Linked DNA regions of Homo sapiens: region 2 is linked to region 1. The links are contacts of gene promoters, found by promoter capture Hi-C in human tissues and cell types (Jung and others, 2019). All regions are on one chromosome and are shown on one strand. The core of a region is centred on a gene start or on the middle of the fragment in contact, and the rest is flanking DNA. Distances in the headings are between cores, read along the strand shown. Region 1 overlaps FKBP1A (FKBP prolyl isomerase 1A). Region 2 holds the start of CSNK2A1 (casein kinase 2 alpha 1).

The links. Contacts are between HindIII fragments. The study calls those that stand out against the background at their distance.
Region 2: a contact is called between the fragment with the promoter of CSNK2A1 here and a fragment that was not itself captured in region 1, in 1 of the 25 tissues and cell types used here (dorsolateral prefrontal cortex).

The regions. Positions count from the first base shown.
Region 1 is chr20:1,382,669-1,389,823 of GRCh38, forward strand. All of the region lies in intron 2 of FKBP1A (FKBP prolyl isomerase 1A), which reads right to left. The region is part of intron 2 of FKBP1A-SDCBP2 (FKBP1A-SDCBP2 readthrough (NMD candidate)); the gene reads right to left. Among named protein-coding and RNA genes, the nearest start is that of MIR6869, 6.7 kb to the right of the region's middle. The HindIII fragment of the contact is 7,512 bases long and covers 1,234-7,155 here.
Region 2 is chr20:540,234-546,824 of GRCh38, forward strand. CSNK2A1 (casein kinase 2 alpha 1) reads right to left here and starts at 3,557. Exons shown (of 14, transcript NM_177559.3): 1 at 3,439-3,557. RefSeq lists enhancers at 1,877-2,570, 3,264-3,957, 3,443-3,592, 3,613-3,692, 3,803-3,852 and 1 more and a silencer at 3,063-3,122. The HindIII fragment of the contact is 15,109 bases long and covers 1,172-6,591 here.

The DNA of each region.
Region 1 (7,155 bases), core at 3,740-6,239:
AGAATATGAGGGGTAATCCCAGAATGGTAAACTTTACTTTAAGCACCTTTAGTTACTAATCAGTAAGAAAAATGTGAAAATGTGCTCCAGTTAAAAGCACAAGACCATGAAAGAAGCCAAAGCTATGACTGACTGCATGCAGAGGCTGTTGACGTCATCTTCGCCTGGGTCTCCTCCTGAACTGAAATCCTTGGAAAGGGAGCAAAAGGGTTTACAAAACAAGACGGTGCAGAGAGTCTCAAGTCTGTCTACTCCACAGCAGCCTGCTCTTTCCTGTTGCTTTTCAAGGAATCAGCAGAGGGAGACCTGGCCAGCAGCTCCTGGGCAGCAAAGTATCCCCAGACTGTGTTCCTGGTGGTTGGCTCAAGCCACTGAAGCGGTGGTTAAGACTCAAGACCAGGACCTGGAGATTCACAAGGACCACTGGGATACTATTTCACTAATAACCCAATAGAAATGGAGTCACTTCCAAGGCACTCTGCTTTGGGGAAGGGCAGAGTGCCATATACCTTCTACTGGGTAACAGGACTGAAGAAGGCACCTCTACAGACTTATGGCTTCACTACTTGTAGTGAAAGCTCATGACTCACAATGCAGTTTATAGTTGCTCATGAATCTTTGCAGGAGTGTTTCCTATAGGCAGCATTTTACAGGGACAAAATATGGGAAGTTTTAAGATTAAAAAAAAAAAAATGACTAAACTAAACCAAAAATCAAACATAACAAAAAACCAGAATATCCTAAGCCCCAAACCTTCAAAATAAAATAAAGTCCTTGCCATTTACAGTTTGGAGAGGGAAAAGGATTTCTACTTTCAACACGCAGGTGAGTTTCTTAATGACAAAAAGTACAATGAGGCCAGCTGCGGAGGAGGCTCATGCCTGTAATCCCAGTGCTTTGGAAGGCCAAGGCAGGAGAATCACTTGAGGCCAGGAGTTTGAGACTGGCATGAGTTTGCAACCAGCCTGGGCAACACAGCAAGACTCATGTCCCCAATCCTGTTTCTGCAAAAAATTAAAAAAAAAAAAAAAAAAATTTAGCCAGACATGGTCCTAGCTACTTGAGTGGATCAAGTGGGAGATCACTTGAGCCCAGAGGTTTGAGGTTGCAGTGAGCTATGACCGCACAAGTACACTCCAGACTGGGCAACAGAACGAGACTCTGTCTCTTAAAAAAAAAAAAAAAGGTGTAATGGTTGAATGGGTGGAGGTAGGGGGAGCCAGTATTTTTCTGCAGCTTTGCATTTGAAGCCACTCAGAACATTCCCAGATGGGCGTATGGCTCAAGGTCTAATGGTTTAGCTGTTTGCTTTCCCTCTTCTTATTAGACACAGAAGTTCTCTTAACCACCTTTTACTCAGCTGCCTTACTTGGAGACTCATAAAACTCACAGCCTTCGTACCCCAGCATAGTGAAGAGCACTCCCCTCATGCTTTAGTCTCTAGCTCATGATCACTTCTTCATTCCCATATGAGTTCTGTGTTCACAAAGGGAGGAGTGGTTAGCTGTGTTTGTCCCCAAATCCATTTATGGTAGCTATATTTACTGTGTAAATATAATGTAATTAAATAGTATGTAAATCAATAAAATGAGTGTGAATACAAACAGCGGTTCTAGCTGACTCCTGGGAAAGACTCAATAAAGGCAAGTCACTAAAAAACTATTGCTAGTGAATAATCATATGGGAGACTACATTTAGAGAAAGAAATCTTAAAAATCTGGAAAGGTTTGGTTTTTAAATGTTCTCACAATACTCTTTGCTCTACTTTAAAAAAGGTCAAATTGGTTTTTGCAAGAACTATGATGGGAAACTCCACTAGCAGAGCCATCCTCAAAGATAAAGACATAGTCCTTTAGCAAATGATTTATGTTAGAGTTTGAAATCAAATGTTTACAGAAGCCATGTCACTTTTATGTTAGCATACCAACTACCCACTTGTCTCAATCATGATGGGTAAAAAGGGATTCTACATTTAGATAGGCAAAAGATACAAATTCAAATCTTACATTCTTATTATTCCATTTCTGGGTCTCTGTGGCTGTATTCCAGCACAACCTCCCTGAAGTGGGGTTCTGAGAACTCCTTATGAGTGAGGGGTATGACCAAAGGTCCAAGTGCCAACCCAAAGAGGGAACCAGCTCACTCTCACTATCATTTTCCTGAGATCACCAACAGTGCAAGCACATTTCCCATACGCAGTATGGAAATGCTTCTAACCTTTGGCTAAATCCCTTTAGATCCTATAACCAAAAGTGTATTTTCAAAGGCAGGGCCCATGATGGGAAGAATATGCAGGATCCAACGGCAATAAAAAGAACACAGACCAGAATGCATGCCCTGTGGGTGTGTCTCTCCATTTTCCACTTTAATCACAGTATAAATAAGAGGAGTTACTACCACATTATATCGCATGGGGAGGGGGAGAAAGAAATACCACTAGGCCGGGTGCAGTGGCTCACGCCTGTAATCCTAGCACTTTGGGAGGCTGAGGCAGGTGGACTGCCTGAGCTTCGGAGTTTGAGACCAGCCTGGGCAACATGGTGAAACCCTGTATCTACTAAAATACAAAAAATCAGCCGGGCATGGTGGCGTGCGCCTGTAGTCCCAGCTACTTGGGAGGCTGAGGCAGGAGAACTGCTTGAACCCGGGAGGCAGAGGTTGCAGTGAGCCGAGATTGCACCAGGGCACTCCAGCCTGGGCGACAGAGTGAGACTCCATCTCCAAAAAAATCAAAAGAAATACCACTTAACAATAGCTAGCTGGAAGTGGTAGAAATATGCATTTTCTATAGGGTATAATGGTTAAAGGCATGAGTTCTGGACCTCTGTTACAGACTATTATTACAACTCCCTCCCTGGTCTCCCTGCTTCTGCTCTTGCTCTCCTACAGTCTAAACCTGACACAGCAGCCAGACCCTACTACCCCTCGGCTGAAAAACTCCTGTGACTCCCCCATCTCAGGAGATAAAACTCTTAAAATGGCCTACAAGACCCTCTAAGAAGTGTCAAGCCTCCGCCCCTACCACCATCCCTCTGACTTCACCTCTGATTACTCTTGTACTTTTCCAGTCCCAGAACATTGTTTCCTTATGTTCTACATACACACCAGGGATACCTCCACCCGTGGGCCTTTGCATTTGCTGTTCTCTCTGCCTAAAATGATCTTGCTCAAACAGTCACATAGGTTACATCCTTACCTCCTTCAAGTCTTTGCTCAAATGTCACTTTCTCATTGAGGCCTTTGCCAATCTATCTAAAACCTCAACCTTTTCCTATTCCCTCCTTAACACTTACTAGCTTATACACAACAGTCTTGCTTATTAATCATATTTATTATGTCTTTTCCACTACAGTGTGAGATGAAGGCAGGAACTGTGTCTTCTTCACTCCTAAATTCTTGGTAGCCAGGACAGTGTCTTGTACATAGCAGACATTCATCAAGTACTTACAGAAATATCAAAGGTACCCTTTTCTCCTCCTGGCCTGTGTATATACCTGGAAGACGCTTTCCTCCTGCCTGACTGCACCATACACACCCAAGACCAAATGGCACTTCCTCCAAGAAGTTCTAGCCTATAGGTGTAGGTTGCCTGAGGTACTTTCATTGTAACTGACCACTCCCTACAGGGTAAGCTTCTTGAGGGCAACATTGAGGCTTTGCCCAGCTCCTTATATATTCACTGAGTGACCGAGGGAATGCCAGGTCCTAACTGGCCACTCATTCAAACAGTCACTGAATAGCTACTCTATGCCAAGACTGATGGGGAGACCTTGGAGAACAACACTAGTGTGGGTCTGGCCTCCTGGAGCCTTCAGTCGGTTGGGGAAAGAGCAGATGTTTAACTACACGGATCCTGACTATGATGGGGGCTAAGAAAATAGATGGGTGCATTGTTGCAGAATTAGAAGCATGCATGTATGCATCCAAAGTGTTACTTAAGCTGTGCTATAAAGAAAAGAGCCTGTCATGCAGTGGGGAGTGGGGGCAGTGTGGTGGCACCTAAGCAAAGGGGCAGAGACCTCCATGTGGGAAAAGGCTTGGAGCATTCGAGGAATGAATGCAGGCCAAGGTGGCTTGAGCTCCTGGGAGAGGAAGAGCAAATGTAACAGAAAGAGACAGTAGCATCTAAGAACTGGTTATTTCTACCTCCCCGACTTTCTGCACTGCTAGAATACACCTGGTCAAAATCAAAGGGGTCCAGGGGAGGGAATGCAGAGACTTGGTTAAGCTTTTTAGCAGGAAAAGAAAACAAAAAAACAGAAGAAAAAATAGAAGTAAAAATAAACAAATGTCACCATGAGCACCAAAGGGAGAACTGAATGCTATGTGATTAAGTTATTCATAACCTTGGCTTCTTCCATGGGAAACAGCAGGTGACAATATTTTTAGAGAAAATTCCAAGGCAGACAAATGATTTCCAGTTTATGGATACAATAAACCCCTCAGTAATTCATAAAAATCAGTTTAAGCCTAAAAATGTTCTAGTTAAAACATCTATGAGTAAATAGGTGAATTTATGGTATGTAAATTATATTCAATAAAGCTGTTACCAAGAAAAAAAAAGGTCATGGACCCCACTGAAAGGAACCAGAGCTCTTTGAAAGATGGCTGATAATTGGACCAGAGTAGTGAAACCGAGAAATGGATGAAGGAATGGTGGGAGCCTGTCAAAAAGGTACTGGAGCCAGCTTAAAGGGCTCCTACTGGCCAAATTTAGGATGATATTAGCATCAAAAAGAATAATGGGTATCATTGATCTTAAGGCCCTGACAAAAAATTTCAGCCCACAGTACAGTCAAAGCAAATAGAGGGGGAAAAAGTCACTTGCCCCCACTGGGAATGGCAATACCCCATCAGTTAACATTCATTTTTCATTTTAAAAATTGGTAATTAAAGGCTGGGCACGGTGGCTCATGCCTGTACTACCAGCACTTTGGGAGGCTAAGGAGGGTGGATCACTTGAGGCCAGGAGTTTGAGACTAGCCTGGGAAACCTGGCGAAACCCGTCTCTACAAAAAATACAAAAATTAGGACAGGTGGCATGCACCTGTATGCCCAACTATTCAGAAGGCCGGATGGGAGGCCGGGATGGGAGTCTGGGAGGTCGAGGCTACAGTGAGCCATGATCAAGCCACTGCACTCCAGCCTGAGTGACAGAGACACTGTCTCAAAAAATAAAAATAAAATTTGGTATTTAAAGGTAAAGAATTACTTTACCTTATCTTATAGAAGGATAACAGCTAATAAATTTAGAAAGAATGAAGGAATTTTAAAAATCAACACTTTGTGAATGCCAGTGACTTCTTCAGGGGAGAATGATCAGATGGTGTAAACACCACTAGGTGAAAGGCTGATGAGCAAGAGACCATCTATGGCTACCTAAGCACTCCACAGATCACTGCTAAATGCAAAGGGAAAAATGTACCTTTACAGAAAAGATCAAATTTAGCATCACAACTAGTGATGTTTCCCATGTGTGCTGAGGATGAAGTACTCACACTAAAATGTTTAAACGGAATCTATTCAGACACTTAAAAGATTAAACATCCGGTTCAGAAAATCAAGGCAGGGAACAAGTTAAACAATACCATGAGAAAACAGTAAGACAGATGTGGAGTATTCTATAACTAGCCTGCTCTCTTTGAAGAAATCAGAGTTATTAAGAAAAAAACAGCGTAAGGACTCTTCTAGACTGAGATTACAGACATAACAACTGCGATGAGTGAGGCTCAATGGAACTGTGGTTTTAAAAAAGAGCAACACTTTGGAGACAACTGGGTAGTCTCGATAGGCATTTGCTTCACAGCAGGCATCGTTACTCCCATTTTATAGACAGCATGTGGAAGCTGGGAACTGTGGGACAATTTGTTCAAGCTCTCATAGCCCGTTGTATGGCAGGGTCAAGATCAGAACACAGCGAAGAACCCACATGCTCTTTGGGGATCACTGTCCACCTGGCACCACTTCTGCCCACTGCCTGAGCTGGCACTCCACACACCTGGGATACAACCAGTGTCCTGTTTCTGCCTTTGCCCCCAAAAGCCCATTGTCCACACAGTAGCCAGAAGGAGCGTGGGTTGGGGGGGCGGGGGCGGGCATTAAAAGCCAAGCCAGCCAGTGGCTCTCACCTGAGTTAGAAAAAGGCAACGTTTTTATAAAAACCAACGAGGCTCCACCATCCCCTCATCTCCTGCCACATACCCTTTCACACAATCCACTTCCTGTTCCTCTAACGCACCGGTCTTCTTACTGTTCCTCTAATGCACCGAGCAGGCTCCAGCCTCAGGGTCCTGCACTAGCTCTTCCCTCTGCCTGGATACTCTAGACAGCCCTGTAGCTCCCTCTCCAATGTCCTTTGAGTGAATGTTAAAATGCCATTTTTTTCAGAGGCCTTTTCCAATCACCCTCACGAAAAGCAGCCAACTTCCCTTCCCATCCCTCACTCTGCTTTAATCTCTCCAGCGCTTCTTACTACCTGATGTGCTCCATGGCCATACTATCAGTCTCCTCATCATAAGCAAAGCCCCACCAGATCAGGTCTTTGTCTATTTAGTTCACTAGCCATGTCCCTAGAGCCTGGCTTGCTGCTGTTGCTCAAAAAACATCTGCTGTGGGAAGGCAAAGGGACTTGTTGCAGCCCTGCCCAACAGTTACAGCCTGTGTGCCTCAAGACAGCACACGTCAGGGGAAGCCATCTGAGGCATCTCTGCTGAGGGTGAGCCTCCCTCCAGACATCAGATCACCAACCAAGAGATACCTAGCAAGGGAGTGGATGGAATAAAGCAGAGGAGAGGGGGGAACAAAGCTAAGGAAAAGCAAGGGGCTTGAGGGAGGCTGCAGCAAAGTGGCCACACCTGTCCCGGGAGCCTCAGCAGCCTTCCCAGTCAACCTCCTGAGGACATGAGGTTGAGGGGCTCCTGGTTTTTCTCAGTCAGAAACCGGGAGGCTATACCTGACTTAAACCTGATCCCAAGGACAAAATGTCCAGTTAGTTACTTTTTAAGAAGAAAAAAGAAAACATTCCTTCAATCCCCTTGGGGCTGCTCTCACAATGGCAGGCACACGGCCTGCTGAAGTAAGTAAAAGAGGTCTAAACCTAGCTGTGTGCCAGGACAAGCTAACAGTAAAGATGACGAAGCTACTGGAGGCAGCAGG
Region 2 (6,591 bases), core at 2,307-4,806, 840 kb before region 1:
ATTCTCAAGAACCTAATGGGCTGTGGAAGTATTCCACATGGGTCCACTCCATTAAAGTTCACATTCACAAATAAACCAGGCTGCACATTTAATACTTTGCTTGGAAATCTCAGCTAAATATACAAGTTCATCACTTGCAAATTTGGCTTTCCATATAACCATAGGATACAATTCTGCTAAACTTAGTTGCTACTATGTAACAAGGATCCCCTTTCTGCCAGTTTCCAATAAGAAAGACCTCACTTCTGTCTGGGCCCTCACTAGCAGAGTCATTAACATCCATATTGCTACTAAAAGTATGTCCTAGGCCTTTTCTTTTTTGACAGGGTCTCACTCTGCCACCCAGGCTGGAGTGCAGTGGTGCCATTACCGCTCACTGCAGCCTTGACTTCCTGGGCTCAAGCGATCCTCCTGTGTTCCAGGCCTTTTCTATCATGCCCCTCAAAACAATTCTAACCTTTATCTACTGCCACTTTCATTTTTAGGTAATAGTACCCCACTCCTGGTACCAAAATCTATACTAGTGTTCTACTGCTGCCATAACAAATTACCACAAATGTAGTAGCTAAAAATAACACAAATTTGTTATCTCACAGTTATTGTAGGTCAGAAGTTGGGTGGGCTTGGCTAGCTAGGTCTTTTGCTTAGGGTCTCACGAGGCCAAAAATCAAGGTGTCTCAAGGTTGCATTCCTTGGTGGAAACTGGGAAATTCACTTCCAAGCTCAATCAGGTTGTTGACCAAATTCAGGTTCCTTCTGGTTGCACAACTGAGGTCCCCATTTCTTTCTGGTTGTCAGCCAGGGACTGGTCTTTGCCACTAGAGGCTGCCCACATTCCTTCTGATAAACTTTCCATGTGGTCCTCTCTAGCAAAGGCAAATGGAGTCCTTCTCATGCTTCAAATCTCTGATTTCCTTTTCTGCCCATTTCTCTGATCCCAGTTGGAGAAAGTTCTCTGCTTTTAAGGACTTAAGTGACTAGATTCGGCCCACCCAGAAAATCCAGGATAATTTTTCTATTTTAAGATTCTTAACCTTAATTACACCTGCCAAGTTCCTTTTGCCATGTAACACAGGATAGCTACAGATTCTGGGGATCAAGGTATGGCACCTTGGGAAGAGGGAGATGTAATTCTGCCTACTACAAATCCAAGTCCTATGGAAGGGTTTAAACTCACTTCCTAAAGAAAATCATCCCTTTCTTTAACAGAGTGTGAAGTAAAGATGTATATATTTTACTTATGTGAAGTAAAGTATATATACATACATACATATGTCTTTACTTATGTGACACAAAGATGTATGTTCAGAGATAGAGACAATAGTAAAAACAAGGACTCACTCTGGATGAGTGAGTAGGAAAAGGACGCGCAGTATGGAAAAGGAGTTGCCACCTGTTTCATCCTCAAATTGCAAGGCACTTCACCCATAACTACTTAGAAACTAACCCATGCTCCTCCTTAAATGTGTATTTCTCTTCTCTGTATTCCACAAAGGAGTACATAACTAGGCTTTTTTTTATTTTTAAAGAAAAGTCACCTCACGGGGACCTAACTGTATAATCAGTTGATTAATCAATCTAAGCAAATTTCCAATCTTGCATTCTTTCTTCAAGTCATACACCCTCCCGCAATAGCAAACCAAAGCCAAGTATTTCAAAGTCACAGAAGGACAAAAACATGCCCTGCTAAGACTGCAGGTGAACTTTTGAGAATACCACGGAGGAGAACTAGTATTGGTACTGGACTTTCAGCCCCAGGTCCACCAAGCCAGTAAAGCCAAATGACTTACAACAAAACCCTACAACAACTACAAAGATACTACTCTAAAGCCCTGTCTACAGTCAAATTCTTGACTATAAATTTTACTTAGAACAGAAGAGCCCCAAATATACCAGCTAGTCCCTTTACAGTGACAGGTAAAAGCTACTTACTACACTTACTACCTGCCAGACACTGTAGTAAGCACTTGACACAAATTGTCTTATTTACTCTTCTCCGTAAACTCACAAGCTAGAAAATACCATCATCCCCCTTTTACAGACGGGAAAACTGAGGCTTAGAGAGTTTAGGTCACACAGCTAAGTAGCAATGGCCCTGATATTTGAGAACCTAGGCAGTCTGGTTTTTAACCACTGGGCCTACACTGCACTCCTCAGATGGAATGAAGTCTCCAATTCTTGGAAAAATCTTCCCTTCTTAGTTTTCTTTTTTCTTTTTGAGGCGGAGTCTCGCTCTGTCGCCCAGGCTGGAGTGCAGTGGCGGATCTCAGCTCACTGCCACCTCCGCCTCCCAGGTTCAAGCGATTCTCCTGCCTTAGCCTCCCGAGTAGCTGGGATTACAGGCGCGCGCCACCAAGCCCGGCTGATATTTGCATTTTTAGTACAGACGGGGTTTCACCGTGTTGGTCAGGCTGGTCTCGAACTCCTGACCTCGTGATCCACCCGCCTCGGCCTCCCAGAGTGCTGGGATTACAGGCGTGAGCCACACGCCCGGCCTCTCTTCTTAGTTTTCATTTCCTCTCCCCATGTCCCATTCTCGTAGAATTAAACAGCTGAAAAGTAATCAAGTCTTCCCAAATAATTTGCCACCTTCTTTTCAAAACTCTTTCCTCCACACAAAGCAATAGCCAAGATGCAACTTCTCCTGACCCTGACTCTGCTTCCCCAAAACAAACTACAGAAGCTCCACCCATCACCTGCTTAATCTAGCAATGTTCCAACACTGCAAAAAACACACAACGAAAAACAAAATTGAAAAGTCCTACTCTTTCAAAAGGTCACCAACATATGTATACCCTTAGCCAAGCTTTCTCTCCATACCTCTTTTTCTATCCAGGCTCCTAACTAGTCCTTAACTCCAACTCCAGACGTTCTGCCCCACGTCTTGGTCCCTTCCCCCTTTCGCCCCAGCAACCCCGCCTGGGGTTCTCTCCACCTCGCACCCACTCTGCAGGTGGGAAGCTCAGCCCCGCCCAGAGGGACCCTAAGAAGGCCCCTACTCCAGCTGCCCAGTTTCGCGGGAGGGTTCACTGCACACTACCCAGCAGGCACCACTCCCTCCGCACCCTCCCCCAGCACCCCCCTGCGGCCCCACCCCTCAAGTTCCCTTCCCCCTCTGACGACCCCCTCCTCCAAGTTGTCCCCTAGTCCCCACCCAGTTCAGTCCTCTCCTCTGCAATAAGCTGGACTCCGGCAGCCGGTTCCCACCCTCACATCGGCCTCTGCCCCCAAACCTCGCCCTCCGCCCTGAGGGGTGGCCCCTGGGCCTCCCCGATGGGCTGCAGGGGCCTCGCTTGGTTTATGTGTGAAGGTGGGGGCAGGGGAAGGCGACGGGCCGCTCAGGAGTCTGCTGGAAGCGTGAGGGTCGGCCGCGCTCCGCTGCCCTATCCTGGGCCCACCCCACCCGCCAACGACCTCGCCTGGCTGCTCCCTAGGTACCTGTGGTGGAAGCGGCAGCGGCGGCGGCCGCTCTCCCCTCTGCTCACACAGACAATATGGCGGCGATGGAGGAGGAGACACACGGCTCGGCCGCCAGCCGCAGGGACCAGAGCGAGGCTGCAGCCGCTGCTGCCGGAAGCGGAAACCCCCTCCTACCAGGAGGCGGGGCGAGACAGCTTCCGACTCCGCCCCCAGAGGAATCTCTCTGAATGCGGCCATGCTGGGATGTCCTATTGTAACCTTAGGGATTCAGTTCTGGCCTAGGGTGCAAAATGGAAGGAATCCCCAACGCAAAGCAGAATAAGGAGACTTGCAATAGTTAAGCGCATTTTATTTCAATAGTGTTAACAAGTGACAACAGAGAGAACACGAACCTCCCATTAGGTGAACAGTTGGTTTGACCCAAGTTAAGATGGCGGTACCCAGGTTTCCCACACTTCACCCAGCTGGCCCCCCTTTCTTGAAAAGAACCATGCGCGACCTGCAGAGCTGTAGAGCCAAGCATTCTGGGAGCTGAAGTCTCTTTTGCTCTGACCCCTCGTTTTAAATTAGGGTTTCAGCAACACTTTCTATTCAAACTTGGAGTTCGGAAGAAGTGAATGAAAGTTGGACCCTAGGAAGGGCATGGCGCAGGAGTCTGAGAAGTGAGGATACTAGCTCTCAAGAGACCAAGGCCCAATTCCTTCCTCCTACAGGAGTCCTGCCAAGAGCTGTGCGTCCAAAATACAGTGTTTTTTTTTCCTTCTATCTGCCTCCCACCCCTGCTCTCCTTGCCCGAGCTACCTCCCCAAAACAGCCACAAAGCACTTTCTACCATGCAGAGCTCATCATGGTCTCCCTATGGTCAAAAATCTCCCATGGACCTCTTTATGCACCAAAGATAGCCCAAACTCTTCACTTGACATTCAGAGTCCTCCATAATTTGGCCAAACCCTCCTTTCCAGCCTCCTATTCTGCCACTCTCTTCTCAAATTCCGGAAGATTCCACCCACAAGACTGCAAACAATTCCTGGAACTTAGCTGTGTTGCCTCCCTCCCTTTACACTGGCAGTTACTTCTCTTACTGTCACCTCATGGACTGGATAATTTCTGTATGCCGATTGAACTAATTCAGGGATCCTTTCCTCTAGGGGTCTCCTCTCTGTTTAACTCCCTCCAACCCAGACACTATCAGTCAGTAACCTGAGGACCTCAGTCTGTCTCCTCCATCAGACTGGGAGCCCCCAGTGGACAGGGCTCCATCTGATGATCAACCTCTCCTTTGCAGGCCCTGATAAAAGCTGAAGCGTCTAAGAGTTGCTGAAAGGAGTTCAAGTATTAGTCTCACCTCTGGTGGGACAGAGGTGTGAGCACTGGAACGAGGGTGAGGAGGCCAGGTTCTTTCAGTACCAACCATTATCCCTAACTGTCTCAGAATAGCTGGTTGTCTCAGGAATGGGCCTCTCCACCCTCCACAGCCCTGCCTTCACAGTTTGTCAGCTGACTAGCACCTCTGCTCCCAAAGAGGCACCTCTTCCCCATGTGGGGTTAGGGCTGGTGGTGGCTGCAGACTTATAGTGATGGCCTCAGGGAGGTGGCTGTGGCCTTCTCTGGACCTCATCTGCTAGACAGCTTGTGACATCTGATCCCAATTGCCTGGGAACCCACAACAGTTTTTCTCTCAGTGTCCTGTAACTGGGCCTCAATTTCCCCACTTGTGGACTGAGGAGGTTATACAAGATAATCCCAAAGTTTCTGGGAAGCCATCTTCCAGGAAATGATACCCTTCTACCTACCTCTCGAACGTATCTTTTTGGCTCTTGTGGCTTTGTTTTTCCCAACTGTATTCACATTTGTTTAACTCACAACAATTCATCATTTGCTATGAGCCAGACACTGTGCTAGGTACTGGGGATGTGTTATGAGGAAGACATACACCAGTTGCTCACTGGTGGAGCTTACCTTCTAAAGTGAGAAGCAAGTAATGCACAGGTAAACAAATGCATAAACAAAGTAATTTCAGGTAGCAATAAGTGCTACGAAAGGAAAAGATAAGTAGCTGTGAAGTATAGAGCTTTAGCTTGAGTGGTTCAGAAGGTCCCTTTGAGAAGGAAACAGTAAGTGCAAACGTCCCAAGGCAGGAAAGAGCATCACAAGTTTGAAGAAGGAGGCCATGGTGGCTGAAGCACTGCAAATAAAGGGAAGAAGAGGAAGAAATATGGTGGGAGAGGTGGGCAGGGCATTCAGGTCATGATAAGGAAGCTGGGTTTTCATCTGAGTGTAGTGAGGATATTTCCCATTGCTTAGCCTTCATGCCTTTCCAATCTCAGCCTCTCTCACAGCATTAGTTCTTCATTCTTCTTCCTAGTTCTGGCCTCTATCCATGACTTCATTCAGAGGGCTCACCTGGGCACACATATACAACCCTCATACTCATGCAGGACATAATTGAAACCCAACTCCTGCCGTCTACTACGCCAGCCTCATGTAGGTCTCCGGTCTCAAGAGGCTTCCCATCCCAAGTGTTCACCTAGTTGTAGACTTAACATTTATCCTTAACTCTTACTGTCTCTGATCCCCCACATCACACCTCTCAGGCTAGTCTTTCTGCAAACAACAGCAGCAGAAGCAAGAGTTAAGATGTTGAGAGTACTTGCACTGTGCCACACACTGAATGTTCATCATCTCACTTAATCCTCATGTCAACCTGATGAGGTAGAAACCAAAAGTATCTCACCGTACAGATGAGGAGACTCAGGTTCACAGAGATCACAGGCCATGCCCAAGGTCACATGCCGGAGATGGAGCTTGCATTTCAACCTGGGCCATTAGAGTGACTCTCTCTCTCTCTCTCTCTTTTGAGACAGGATCTTGCTCTGTTGTCCAGGCTGGAGTGCAGTGGCATGATCACAGCTCATTATAACCTTGAACTCCTGTGCTTAAGCGATCCTCCCACCTTAGCCTCCTGAGTAGCTAGGACTACAGACATGCACCACCATGCCTGGCTCATTTTTAATTTAGTAGTATTATTATTACTATTATTATTATTGTACAGATGGGGTCTTGCTATGTTGCCAGGGCTGGTCTTGAACTCCTAGGCTCAAGCAGTTCCCCTGCCTTGGCCTCCCAAAGTGCTAGAATTACAGGCAAAAGTTTTAATCATGCACTAAGAAC